Regions from separate parts of the Homo sapiens genome. Here region 1 is linked to region 2. Evidence: promoter capture Hi-C in human tissues and cell types (Jung and others, 2019). All regions are on one chromosome and are shown on one strand. The core of a region is centred on a gene start or on the middle of the fragment in contact, and the rest is flanking DNA. Distances in the headings are between cores, read along the strand shown. Region 1 overlaps RHEB (Ras homolog, mTORC1 binding). Region 2 holds the start of CRYGN (crystallin gamma N).

The links. Contacts are between HindIII fragments. The study calls those that stand out against the background at their distance.
Region 1: a contact is called between a fragment that was not itself captured here and the fragment with the promoter of CRYGN in region 2, in 1 of the 25 tissues and cell types used here (dorsolateral prefrontal cortex).

What each region holds. Positions count from the first base shown.
Region 1 is chr7:151,480,141-151,487,752 of GRCh38, forward strand. RHEB (Ras homolog, mTORC1 binding) reads right to left here. Exons shown (of 8, transcript NM_005614.4): 3 at 4,597-4,664. Among named protein-coding and RNA genes, the nearest start is that of RHEB, 36 kb to the right of the region's middle. The HindIII fragment of the contact is 4,655 bases long and covers 3,947-7,612 here.
Region 2 is chr7:151,438,699-151,445,539 of GRCh38, forward strand. It overlaps CRYGN (crystallin gamma N), which reads right to left and starts at 1,443. Exons shown (of 4, transcript NM_144727.3): 1 at 1,199-1,443. The coding sequence starts at 1,219. RefSeq lists enhancers at 222-722, 723-1,223, 1,935-2,471. The HindIII fragment of the contact is 10,973 bases long and covers 1-6,841 here.

The DNA of each region.
Region 1 (7,612 bases), core at 5,024-7,523, 46 kb after region 2:
CCTATGATAGCCCACATCCAGGAAGTTTTCCTATGTGCATTATTACCCTATGTCTAAAACAACGTCCGGGATGTTCATTAAGGGACTGCTGATGGTAGCAAGACCAGCAACAGTCTAACTGTTGATCAGCAGTTAACTTAGGATATATATCCCAACAACTGGATATTACGCAGCCTTGGGGGAAAAGGAGGCCATAGGTATTGATATGGAATAATCTCCAAGAGGGAGATGTATTACTTTTTGTGTAAAAAGGAAAAAAAACAAAACAAAACCCAAGCTTAAAACTATATTTGCATATTCATGTATCAAGTATCCTAGAGGCATATACTAGAAACTGGTAAATGTGGTTGCTGGTGGGGGTGGGGGGTTAGATAGCTAGGGTAGGAACGTCTTAAGTTTTACTATTTACACCTTTTGGCACTATTTATTTTTGTACCATGCGCATTACACCTATTTTTTAAAAATTAAACTCAATTTTCAAAAAAGCAAATTTGGTTACATTATAAGATGGATTGTCATTGAATCAATTTTAATTATTATTAATTATTATTTTTTTTTTTTGAGACAGAGTTTCACTCTTGTTGCCCAGGCTAGAGGGCAATGGTGCAATCTTGGGTTACTACAACCTCCGCCTCCTGGGTTCAAGCAATTCTCCTGCCTCGGCCTCCCAAGTAGCTGGGATTATAGGCATGTACCACCATGTCTGGCTAATTTTGTAGTTTTAGTAGAGACAGAGTTTCACCATGTTGGTCAGGCTGGTTTCAAAATCCTGACCTAAAGTGATCCACCCGCCTTGGCCTCCCAAAGTGCGGGGATTACAGGTGTGAATCTAAGTTATTAACCCATTTATGCCGGAGGTTGCAAAATTTTTTTTTTCATGAAAAATCAGACCTTGGTGACCTTGAGCAGTAGGATATAAATAACTCCCACAAGCTTAACGTTCCAATAATGTAACACCAGGCATAAATAGGTTAATATAGAAGAGGCTACTTTTTTTTTTTTTTGATACTTCACATTCTTACCCCAAAATTCATTTAGGGTATATGTTCTCACCCTAAAATTGGGCAAAACCAAAATATTTCATGCAATCTAAAAATAATCTGTATTTAACCATGTTCATCATCATTCCTAGGTGGGCAATTAAACCACTATTAAACCATAGTGGTATGGATGTACCGACATAAACTACTAAGTAGTAAATAGAACTTGCTAACAAATACCGCTATGCAGCAATTCACTGCGTGCAATTTCACTCCTGAAATGTGGAAGCCAGTGAACAAATTTACTATAGATTACTTTTAAAAGAATTTGCCCCTTAATCATTTTACCCTACTACTACCAGTCTTAATCCTAGAACCAGCCCCCGTATGCATCCAATTTATAAAGCAGCTCTTGGAGCAGTAAACACCTGAGTTTGTTATCATCCAGTTTTCAACAGAATGAAGGGTGAAACCACGGCAGGACATGCCTGTGTGCCACCATCCTGAGCTGTAAATAAAGAGCACATCTTTAATTTATTGTCTCTCAACTGTAAATATAACCTTCAAGAACTACTAGTTGCAATGACTACAAATAATTTAAAGTAGCCAAATTTGGATATATTTTGTGCAAAAATTCTCCAAATACTCTTACCCAGTTGTAATATAACCCGAAGGGGCAAGACAACAGGGCTGCTAATATGACCACTGCTCTTGTCTTATCTCATATCATATACTCTTCCTAAACACTGGTGCTTTTGGTTTCACTATTTGTATTACTACATCACTAAAATATTTTAAATTGTTTGATACCTGAGTGTACATTTATGTTCCAGGGCAAAACAGTACCCCAGAGGAACACATATTCCAACTTGATAAGTAGTCAGTATAAAGAAATTTATTCTTTAGAGAAATCTTTTCAAAGACAGCTCTCCAAGTATTAAGAACATGTGCACTTCCACCATGCAGCCTGTCAACACAGTTAATATGCTGGCGTCACACTTGCCTCAGCAGCATTGAAGGTCTACAAAGAAAGAGCACAGCCTCTTTAACCCCAATGTGACAATCCTGCAACAATGCCAGTTATCACTATTTATAGATAAAGCTCTGAGGCACAGAAAGACTTCTTCACCCTTTTATGTAAAGAGATGGGATCTCGCTGTGTTGCCCAGGCTGGACTGCAGTGGTGCTATCACAGCTCACTGCAACCTCAAACTCCTGGGCTCAAGTGATCCTTCCACCTCCCACAGTGTTGGGATTAAGGGCATGAGCCACCATGCCCAGCCCTCATTCGCTTCCTTAAGGTTACTGGGTTAGCAACAAAAACCAAGATTCAAATCCAGGCAAGTGTAACCCCAGGGCCCACACTCCAAACAGTTATGAAATACTGGTTCCCTGAATTGCCTGATACAAAACGTGTTTCCACAGTAACATTACATGAAAGTGATTTATCAATTTACATTCTCATCACCAGTTTTCAGGAGCTTAAAGGAGATTCCAAATAAGGATACAAAAGCAAACTGAAGTCTTGATAGTGTCAGAGTCCCACAATAAACAGAACAGCTGTATTTCTTTGCCCAGGACATTCTAAGTTACACTGTTGTCCCAACATAATTATTATTAGCACCCCCAGCCCACAACTCTGAAAGTGTCTTGGTTTAGGCAATAAATTATATAGTCAACTATAAAAGAAAGATACAAAACCCAACAATCCAAAACAATTTCCTACTCAAGCGGCTCTTCCCTTCCCTACTAATTTCTAATGAGCCTCGTCATCTGTGCCATGCCCCCGACCCCCTAACAGAGACTTCTACTGCTCCCCTGGTCCATATAAGCCCCAACTCCTATTCTTCTGTCAAGAGGACAGGTATCAGGGGGTGAAAGCCTAGGATGGCTCTGCTCTAATGAAAGCATCAAGAATCTGACTGCTAAAGCACACTGCATCACCACCAGCAGGGAGTGTGTAGGGTGAGTGAAGGAGGCACATGCTATAGCTCTGTGTACAAGCTCAAAGAGCCAAACACATTTATTTTCTTCCAAGCTTCCAAAATGGAAACCTCAGGGTTCCTCCAATGCTAACATCACTCAATACAGCTATCTTCTTGCTTCACTAAGGCATCACACTTTCCTTCTATGTTTACTTCAAAATGCAAAGCAGAGGGAATTCATTCCAAACCCACAGGACAGGTCATATTATTCTGGGTCTACTCCAATTTCCCCAGATTCCAGAAAAATAGCCCCCATTTAACACAGCAAACCAGATCACACTACACTCACCCTCCTGCTACTCTTATCCTTTGATTATAAGTTGCAAGGGCGGGCCAGGCATGGTGGCTCATGCCTGTCATCCTAGCACTTTCAGAGGCCGAGGCAGGTGAATCACCTGAGGTCAGGAGTTCAAGACCAGCCAGGCCAATATGGCGAAACCCCGCCTCTACTAAAAATACAAAATTAGCCGGGTGTGGTGGTGTGCCTGTAATCCCGGCTACTTGGGAGGCTGTGCCAGGAGAATTGCTTTAACTCAGGAGGCACAGGTTGTAGTGGGATAGCACCACTGCCTTCCAGCCTGGGTGACAGAGCAAGACTCTGTCTCAAAAAAATGTTGCAAGGGCAGGAGTTAGGAGCTGAAATCCCAGCTTCTTTACATTCCTCACCCTCCAGTGAAGAAGGGTAAATTCAGTCTTACAGAATAGTTTCTAGTAAAAGCAGGCCTGGATGTCATGGTAATGGGGCAGCTAAGCTGTCAAAAGGGCTTTTCTTTGTTTCATGTACTCCTTTCCCCCTTGCTTCCAGCCAATTCCCTGGTGATCCATTCCACACATCCCTGCTACATTAACCGACATGTGAATATCCTTTCTGGGGGGATTATTTGACTTTTGGCCATTATCTACTGTCTATCAAATAAATTGAAACTCCCTAATCTAGTAATCACTCTCAAATCCACCCACCCAGAGACTCTACTATATAAACTAAAGCCAACACTCAAACCAGAGCCTGGACTCCAGTCAAACTGGTATTTTATGGCCCAGGTCCTCATAAGATTAAATCAGCTAATTTCTGCCCTATGCCCCTCTTATGCCTTTCCTCTAGAAAAGATGTACTTTTGCCCTAATGTAGGAGAACACATATCACAAAGAGAAAGAAAGCAACTAATATGACTCTCTAATATAGAATTAAAGTTTAGAAAATAGAAAACCACTATCCTGTAATAAGTATTAACCCTTACAATGTTAATATATTTAAAGCAATTCTAAAGCAGAAAAACAAGTTATTAAAAGATAACTGCCAGAAATGTCTTAGAAAAGACCAAGTAGACAGCATACTAACATTTAGTTATCTGTGTAAGCTCCTTGACTTATGATGGGGTTACATCGTGATAAACCTACTGTAAACCAAAAATATCATGAGTTGAAAATGTATCAAATACCTCAATAGACCCATCGTAAAGATGAGAAATTGTTAAGTCGAGCCACTGCAAGCCAAACCATTGGGAGTCAGGGACTGTCTGCACACAACCTGAGGGGTTTTCTTGGCATAGCTGGTACTTTTAAAAATCAGTGCTAGGACCAAGACTGTCAGATATGCTGTATAAGATTCTGAGATACCAGAGGTCACTTACTTGCCCGGCTGTGTCTACAAGTTGAAGATGATATTCTTGTCCATTTACTGTGATCAACTTTGTAAAAGCTACAGGGAAAAAGGAAATTAAACATTAGTTTAAAAAAATTAACTCGAAACCACCTGAAGTTTGAACAATGACAACCAATCAAGCACAGAGTCCCTAGCAGTCTCAGAGAAAGGCCCCATGAAACAAAAAAGAACAACTCTCTGACTTGTATAGATTCTCCCCTACTTCCATTATTTAGCTAGGAAATACGGTGACTGGCTAAAATCAAGCTTGGTAAACCTTGATTCTTTTTCAAAGAGACAAAGTACGCAACAATTCATATCCTATAATAGTAATTTGAATGCTGTGTGGCAAATCCTTCCTCTTGTGAAAAAGTGAAATATACTACGTAAAGTCTGAGGTCTAGAATAAACCAAAACCACAAAAATTTTCCATTAATTTATAGGAAGTCTGGCATCAGAGCACAAAGAGCTAATATTAGTTAAGTGCTAAGAACTTTTAGTACATAAAAGAAGTAACAGTTTTACTGACGGATAAAACAGCAATGAAACAGATGTTCTGTGTTGAAGCCATCCTTCCCACTTAAGCTTAAGGATCCAAGCAATTTGTCACAACTTCTTTTCCCTGACAAGGGAGGAAAGAAAATCAGACTTGAATAACTTCCGGAAAAGTCAATTCAGAATTAGAGGGAGACAGACTTCAAACAAATATAGACAAAAGAGGAAAGAACTACTAACAGAAACAATGTAAAAATAACCACCTGGAACTCTGACAAGGAAGTGGAACAGATTTATCTTGCATACCCGCCCCAGCCATCTTGACTCACCATGAGTCCTCCAATCTCCTGATTGGCCGTCCTATATGACTAGAGCCAGGCAGCAGAATCTATCCCTCATACAACTGAGAGAGGTCCCACTCTACCCACAGCAGAAAGGCAAAGCTGACACAGACAAATGGAAATTATGTGAGAAAACTCTAAGTAATAAGGAGGATTGATCAGAGATCTTATCTGAGTTATATGAGTTCCACAGGGAAAGAAATGATGGCTGAAAGACAAGCAATCATCACAGAGAACCATATTAGCGTCACACTTTTCTAATACAAGCAGGGGGGCCAAAAGTCAGGTGAGTAAAGATAACAGACCACAGCATGAAATCAATGGCCACACTATATTATGCTTGTACCTGTTCCGGAAGTTATCACTTTTAGGAAACAGTTAAATCAGATGGAAACTGAATCGGAATATTTCAAGCTGGGGGGATACCCAATATAACCTATTTCATCAATTCTAAGAAAGAATTCAGATTTGTTTTTACACCTTATTCTCTCTGAACTTGGGATGCATCCTGCACCGCTGGAGGTTTCAGTCCTTGTCAGCCAGGGTGCAGTCACTACATAGCTGTGTGAAAACCTTCAGTCACGTGAGATTGAAGTGTATTTCAGATTTGATGAGAAGTATGTAAGAAACACTGGTGAGCAATAAAACCAGTGACCTTCAATTAGAACTAAGTAACTGCAGTTATCAAGTATAATTATGATGACAAGGTTACTGAAAGGAAACATCATTCATTCATTCATTCATTCAAGAACAATTTCTTGAGTGCCTATTATCACCAGTAGCACTGTTGTGGGTGCTTGGGATGCTGTAGTCTCTGATACTCAGTGAGCTTAGATCCCAGGGAAGGAAAGAAGGTATAGACACACACATGTACCCTCCCACCCTGTCGGGTATCTTCCCTGGGAGTGGAACACCCAGGCAGAGGTTAAACAGCAAGTGAAAAAAGCAAAAAAGTCAATGCAGCTAAAGCTCAGAGAGAACGGTAGATAGCTAACTAGGATGGACAGGAGGCAGAAGGTCCTACAGAACTTGGGATTTTTACTCTGAATGTGAGGAGAAACCAAGGAAAGATCACTCTGGCTACGCTGTAAGTAACAAAAATGGTCCCAGGGATATTAGGCAGGAGCCCATGATACAGTGACCACATGACTGTACAGACTATCACAATCTATAGAGGGTGACACTGGCCTGGATTAGAGGTGGAGATATTCTGGAAATATTTCAGAGGCAGAACCAAAAGGATTTTCTGATTGACTGGAAGTGGGATGTAAGAAAATGAAGAGTCAGGATGACTCCAAAGCTTCTGTAAGTTGCCACTTACAGGAAAGACTAGGGGAAGAATACTAGGGATAGGAGAGGAAGGGAAATGAGTTGGGTTTTAGGGATGTTTTGGGATGCCTATTAAATACCAAGGGGAAATGCAGGCAGTTAAATAAAAAAGCCCAGGATGTAGTGGCTTATGCCTGTAATCCCACTTTGGGAGGCCCAGGCAGGAGGACTGCTTGAGGCCTGGAGTTCAAGACCACCCTGGGCAACACAGGGAGACCCAATCTCCACAAAAATGGAAAAACTGCTCCAGCGTGGTGGCTCACGCCTGTAGTCCTAGCTACTTGTGAGGCTGAGGAAAGATCATTTTAAGCCCAGGTATTCAAGGTTACAGTGAGCTATGATCATGCCACTGCACTCCTGCCTGAAGGACAGAGTGAAAGACCTTGTCATGTAGAATAAAATAAATTATAAAATAAAGCCCAGAGCTGGGGGGAGAGGTTGCGGCTGAGAATACACACTGGTGAGTCAATAGCAAATTGAAGAGAGGGGAAGATTACTTGAGAGCAAGTGCAGAGGAAAGGCCTGAACCAGGGCACCCCATGTTGCCAAGTCAAAAAAATGCAGAAGATTCGGCCAAGAAGACTGAGATGTCATTGTACATAGTGTATAAAAGAAAAAAAAAAAAATAAACATTTGCATCTATCTTTGCATGTAAAAAGAATGTAACTTGTCCTACTTGTAGCAGTAAAATGAAAAAGACCTTCCATCTTGCTGTCATAGGAAAACTGCCAGTTTTTTACTATAGAAAAAAGGGAGGTATAATAAGAGATAGGATAGACTCGGAAATAATTCTACTGTCTCTCATTTTAACCTCATGTCAAAGTGGAAAGCTGGCTTTCT
Region 2 (6,841 bases), core at 193-2,692:
TTCGGGTTCCTGGGATTGGGCCTCCTTCACTGGAGAGGCTGAATGGGCCGAAGCCGCGTCAGGGCCTGGCTCGGGATTAATGTTCGCAAAAGAGGGCTTATAAGTGCCACCCTGTCTCTCTGTGTTTTGTAGGTCACTCCTTTGGGTAGCAGGCATGTATCAGATCTGGAGCTCCATCACCCTGCTGGGAGTTCAGACATCGTGTCTTATAGCTACGTGGCACTCACAGGTTGTCCTTGTCCCGAAACAAAACAAAGTGAAGCAATAACAACCCGCCAGACTCATTTCCTGCTGTGGAACCTAAAATCTCAACCATTTAGTAACTCTTTGGGTTTCAAGAACTGTGGCCCTAGAAGGGTCCTGCCAGAGTGCAGTGATGTTCCCCATCACTATGGTCGCTTGTGCCTCACCAGTGTCTCCAGTTCGCTCAAAAGAACACGAGAATTGCCCTTCCAGGCCCCTTGGAGTCAGGCGTGGCCACATGCGTTCACCGGAAAGGAGGCAGACACCTTGGCGTTCTGCACCCCAGAGTTACTGGGGCCCTTTGTTACTGAAGCATCACCTGGCCCATGCAGACTGATACAGCAACACAGTCACCCCCAGACACTCTGGAATGTGGCCTTGGAGACCAAAGGCTTCATGGGAGTGGCTAGGCTAGGGGCACTGGAGAGGGCGAGGGAGAGCCAGGTCTCCCGTCCTTCCTGCACCAGGCACGGCTGGTAGAGGGCCCCTGAAACCTTCAGGGAGGTCTGGGCACCAAAGGGATTCGGGGCTCCCTCAAATCTCAACATTTTTCAGAGAACCAGCCCTAAGTGTCCCTGAAGAGACCCTGGGAAGGAAAAGCCATAGAGGCCAGCCTTGGGCAAAGAAGCCGCAGCAGTGGGGCGGAGGGCTGTGGGACAAGCCAAGCCTCCCCCACCCCAAGGAAGCCCCAGGGAGTCTGAACACCCTCCCTGCTCCTGACTGCAGGGCGAGGGGTTGGAATCCCAGAAGGAAGGAGTGGAGATGGAGACCTTCCTATCCATCCACACCAGAGAGGCCCCAGGCCAGTAGCGAGGCCACCCCATTTTATTAAGAAATTAAACCAGCTTCCCTTGGATTTGTCACCATCAACAGTGTGCACCCTCCTGCATCCCCTAGCACAGGGGGCGAAGGCGGAGCCCCACTCGGTTTCCTTGGGGTTGAGGGACGCACTCACCTTCCCCGAGCGCTGCGCCATGGTGCGCCCCGCCCCTTCCGCGGGTCCCCGTTTACACCGGGCAGCGCCCTGCTGGCTCAGCGCCGCCCCGGACAAAAGATTTGCTGGGCCGGCCCCGGAGCGTTAGTGCTGTCGGGCGTGCTAAGCCCGAGGGGCCACCAGGCGGTTGGGACCCGCCGCGGCCACCCTGTGCCACCGCGAGTGCAGCCCGCCCTGCCCGGGGTCTCCCTGTGCTCTCCGCGTTTAGCTCCCGAGCCTCCTTCCTCCCTGAGCCCTCCCGCCCAGCCCGCGGCTGCCCCTGCCCTGCCCTGGAGTGGTGGGGGGAGGAGGGGAGGTGTCTCTCTAGCCCTCCAACCTTTCTTCCCCTGCGCTGCCCCTCAGCCCTCACGCCCATCTCCCTCCCTCCCAAGGCCTGTTCCGAGCTCCCCAGCCCACTCCCCTTTCTCACCTGGCTGCAGGTAGTCTCGCCTTGGTGCCAACTTGTTTGTCTCCACGAGGATGCAACCCAAGCTTCCCCGGACAGACAGACAGCCCTTGACCGCCCCTCCCCTGGCTGCTCTGGTCTGAGCTCCCAGGTCCCCACCTTAGACCTCCGGCTCCAACTCACCCAGCTCCTGATGCACCCCCCCACACCCCACAAAACGCCAGGCCAGGTCAGGCCTCCCTCCTCCCGCTCTCTTCCTGCCTGCCTCCCTCCCTGGCACTCTCCCTCCCTGGGTCCCTCTCTCCTTGAAGATCCTGCCTAGGGTGACCAGGTGACCCGCGCTGCCCTGAGCTGGGGGTACAGTGCTCTGCCCCTTGCCTCTCTGCTGCACCAACTAAGCCACCCTGGACGCCCAGGATCAGTTTACAGCACAAAGCAGCCCCACCGCGGAGGGAGAGTTCCCCAGGGCCCAGAACGAGCACTTGGCAGACAGCAGAGGCTCAGAGATTGTGGAGTGAGCAGAGCGAACATGGAGCCCACAGGATGTGCAGCCCCCACACGGCTGGGGAGATGAGCTGGGAACACAGGACTCATGACTCAGATGGCTGGGGTGGTGGGGGACAGGCTCTGAGATCAAAGGAGAGAGGGGCAGGTGCTCCACAGGGGCTTCTGCTGGAGGGGAGGGAGGAGCTTTGGGGAGGAGTTTGGGCTGCTCTTCCTTCAAACAGTATATTTTTATGACCATTTCACAGATGAGACACTGAGGCCCAGGAAGAGGAGGTTATGTGATTCTTGGGGCAGAGGGGTGACCTTGCCTCTGCTGTGGGAGGTTTTCAAAAGTAGACAGGGTACAAACCAGAACCTGCATGTCACCCTTGAACCCAGGGACGGTCCTCCCTAGGGACGCCCCTCCCTAGGGACGCCGCCCAGCTGCCTCCACTGGCGCCCTTACTTGCCAAGCCACACATTCCAATGTTTCTCTCTGGACCTGGGCCCTGGTGGGGACATAAAATTAAAAACAAAATCTCCAGCCAACCCAGAAAACTTCTCCACGAAGGTAGAAGGAAAAAAAAACAATTTTATTATTGAATAAACTTTAAACTGGAATGCGATCTGCATCACGATCTCTCCCCTAAGAGATCGCAAAGATGGAGAGAGATCTCACTCTTCTGTAGCCAAGCAGACACAACCCACTGCATTCATGTTTTCAGGATAAAATTGCTGATTTTCTTGTATCTCTATGACTGGAGGTGGGTTTTGCAATTTGGAGTCAGGTGACAGCTGAAGTCAGGCTTCTTAGGAAACGGGGAGGGTGGGGGCACTTACTCCTTGATGTCAAGACTCAAAGAGGCTCCCAGAGGAAACATGACTGAGTTGTTAGACTGGCAAGAGGCTTGTTTAGCCATTAAAAAGATTTACACACATTTGAAAATGACAGAGAAGGAAATTCTGCAAGAAAAGGGAGGAAAGGGAAGCCTCTTCCCTTATTTTCAACAGGGAAAAATAAGCCTTAAAAAAAGGTTTTATTTTTTAGAGCAGCTTTAGGTTCAAGTTGAATTCAGCAAAAGGTACAGCAATTTCCTGTATACCCCCTGCCCCTACACACACACACACACACACACACACACACACACACACACACACAGAGCCTCCTCCACAATCAGCGCCCCCATTAGAGTGGTACATTTGTCACAGCCGATGAACCTATGTTATACATCGGGATACAGGATGAGAAGTTGAGAGAATGCGGCGTAGACTTTGTTAAAATAACACATTTTTAAAGCCTCCCCACATAATGTGGTTGATTTTTCACAGCTTGCTACTCTTTGTCCAGTTGAGTATGTAAGTGTTTGACTCTTAACTTTTTCTTTGGGTCTTCATCTCCTTATAAGGGCTCCCATGCCACATAAAACTTGTATTAAATAAGTTTGTATGCTTTTCTCTTGTTAATCTGTCTTAGGTCAATTTATTTCTCAGGCCCAGCCAGGACCCTAAGAGGATGGAGGTAGAACTTTGCTGCCTCTACAGTGTAATGCCATGGTTCCACCATTAGAGCACCAGGTAGAGTATTCTCACCACCTTAAAAGTCCCCTGTGTGGGCTGGGCACGGCGGCTCACACCTGTAATCCCAGCACTTTGGGAGGCCGGGGCGGGTGGATCACCTAAGGTCAGGAGTTTGAGACCAGCCTGGCCAACAGGGCGAAACCCTGTCTCTACTAAAAATACAAAAACTAGCCAGGCGTGGTGGCAGGCGCCTGTAATCCTAGCTACTCAGGAGGCTGAGGCAGTGAGAATTGCTTGAACCTGGAAGGTGGAGGTTGTAGTGAGCCAAGATTGCGCCACTGCACTCCAGCCTGGACGACAGAGTTAAACTCCGTCTCAAAAAAAAAAAAAAAAAGATAAAAAAAAAAGTCCCCTGGGCTCCATCTGTTTATCCCTCTCTCCCCCTTAACTCCTGGCAACCACTGATCTTTTTACTATCTTCACGGTTTTGCCTTTTTCAGGATGTCATGTATTTGGAATCTTACAGTATGTAGCTACTACGGTTTGAACGTGTCCCCCAAAACACATGTGTTGGAAACTTAATCCCCAATGCAACAATGTTGAAAGATGCGGTCTCATGGGAAGGGTTTAGGTCATGAGGGCTTCACCCTCATTCATGGATTAACGCTGACCATAAAGGGCTACAAGGTCAACCGCTTGCTCTCTCTCACCCTCTCTTTGCCCTTCTCCCATGGGATGATACAGCAAGAAGGCCCTTGAAAGATGCCAGCACCGTGATGTTAGACTTCTCAGCCTCCAGAACTGTGAGCCAGTACATTTGTGTTCATTGTAAATTACCCAGTCTGTGGTATTCTGTTATAGCGGCACAAAACGGACTAAGACAGCAAGTAGCTTTCTCAGATTGGTTTCTTCCACTTAGTAATATGCATTTAAGATTCCCTCATATCTTTTCCTGGCCTAGTCTCTCATTTCTTTTTACTGCTGAATCATGTTCCCTTGTCTGGAAGTACCACAGTTTAGTTATCTATTCATCAATGGAAGGACATTTTGGTTGTGTCCAAGTTTTGGCAATTATGAGGAAAGCTTCTATAAACAACCACGTGTAGATTTTTGTGTGCTCCTTTCACTATACACTAAGGAGTGGGATTGCTGGATCATATGTTACAGGTATGTTTAGTTGTGCAACAAACTGAAAAAAAAATAAAAGCCAGGTGCAGAGGCTTGTACCTGTAATCCCAGCTACTCAGGAGGCTAAGGCAGGAGGATTACTTGAGGCCGGGAGTTCAAGACCAGCTTGGACAACATAGCAAGACCCTGTCTCTAAAAAATTCAAAATCAAATCAAATAAAAAGAAACTGTCAAACTCTCTTTCAAAGTGGCTATATGATTTTTCATTCTGACCATTTGGTGCTATCAAGTTTTGGATTTTAGCCATTCAAATAAGTGTGCAGTGGTGTCTCATTGTTGTTTTAAGAGCTTTTTTTTTTTTTTTTTTTTGAGATGGAGTCTTGCTCTGTCCCCCAGGCAGGAGTGCAGTGATGCGATCTCAGCTCACTGCAATCTCTGCCTCCTAGGTTCAAGCAATTCTCCTGCCTCAGCCTCCCCAGTAGCTGGGACTACAGGTGTGTGCCACCACGCCCAGCTAATTTTTTTTTTTTTTTTTTTTTTTTTTTGGAGATGGAGTCTTGTTCTGTTGCCCAGGCTGGAGTGCAGTGGCGTGATCTCAACTCACTGCAACATCCACCTCCTGGGTTCAAGCGATTCTCCTGCTTCAGCCTCCCGAGTAGCTGGGACTACAGGCACACGCCGCCAAGCCTGGCTAGTTTTTTGTATTTTAGTAGAGATGGGGTTTCACCATGTTGCCCAGGCTGATATCAAACTCCTGAGCTCAGGCAATCCGCCTGCCTTGGCCTCCCAAAGTGCTAGGATTACAGGCGTGAGCCACCGCGCCTGGCCAATTTTTGTATTTTTAGTAGAGATGGGGCTTCACCACGTTGGCCAGGCTGGTCTTGAATGCCTGACCTCAAGTGATCCGCCTGCCTTGGCCTCCCAAAGTGCTGGGATTACAGGTGTGAGCCACTGTGCCCAGCTGAACTTCTTCTTTTTAATTTGTATTTGCCCTCATCACAGCAGGGCCAGAGCACACAGACAACCCAAAAAGGTGATGACAACAGAATCCAAAACAGAAGCAGTGATTTGGGGTGTTTTCTGAGAAATATATATGAAAAAATGCCTAGCTGAAAGCCCCACGCAAAGAATTATTAAAAATGGGTAGATGAATAAGATACCTGCAAATTTCACCTCCATTCCCTATTTCTAATGCAATATCTCAATTCCCACCTGGGATTTTATTATAATTCAGTTACCAGAGGAGGAGTCTGCTAAGATTCATATTATCTATTTGTGGCCAGGTAGAACCCCTCCCCAAAATAGCTACATAATATGCAAATGCCAGTATCACCAAACCTCAACATCAGAGTCATTTTTTTGAGTCATCTTTGGTAGAGCACTGTTAAAATGTACCTTGAGGTAGGTGAGATCTTGAGTCACTATACAGCTGCTAGTTGGGGACAAAATTCTAAGGAAATGGACTGAGAATAAATATCGTGACAGCACAGAAGAAGCAAGGCTAAGAATGCTATCATGGCTTAAAAAATAAAATCTCAATAACATGTAGCCTTAGAACTACCAGTAGCTGCTCAGCATTGGAGAGTTTTACAGCGTGGAGGCTAATGGTTTTAATAATAAATCACCCTGAGCCATCACCCGTTTGCCTGCCTCCCTTCTCTGCCTCTTGTCTCTCCCGTTTTTGGGTAATTTAGAGCACAGAGAAGAATAGGAAATAATATAAGGAACAATAACACCACCATACAAAGTTTGTCAAATCTTAGCATTTTGCCAGGTTTATGTCGGATCAATGTTTTTCCTTAAAATAAGAAATCATTATACATAGAATTGAAGGCTTCCTTCCCCATAAGGATAAGATACTGTCCTGATTTTTGTGTTATGTCTTTGTGTGTTTTCATCTTTTTACTTTCTTTGTATGTATCTGTAAATAATAGAAAATTTTTAGTGTGGCTACATTATATGTAGCCTTCTGCAATTTGGTTTTTTGTTTTAGTGACAAGAGTTTCTGAAATGGTGAATGAACAAAGCTCAGTAGAATTCCTCAGAAAACTAAGTAAAATCTTCCATTTATATATCTAATAAATTGC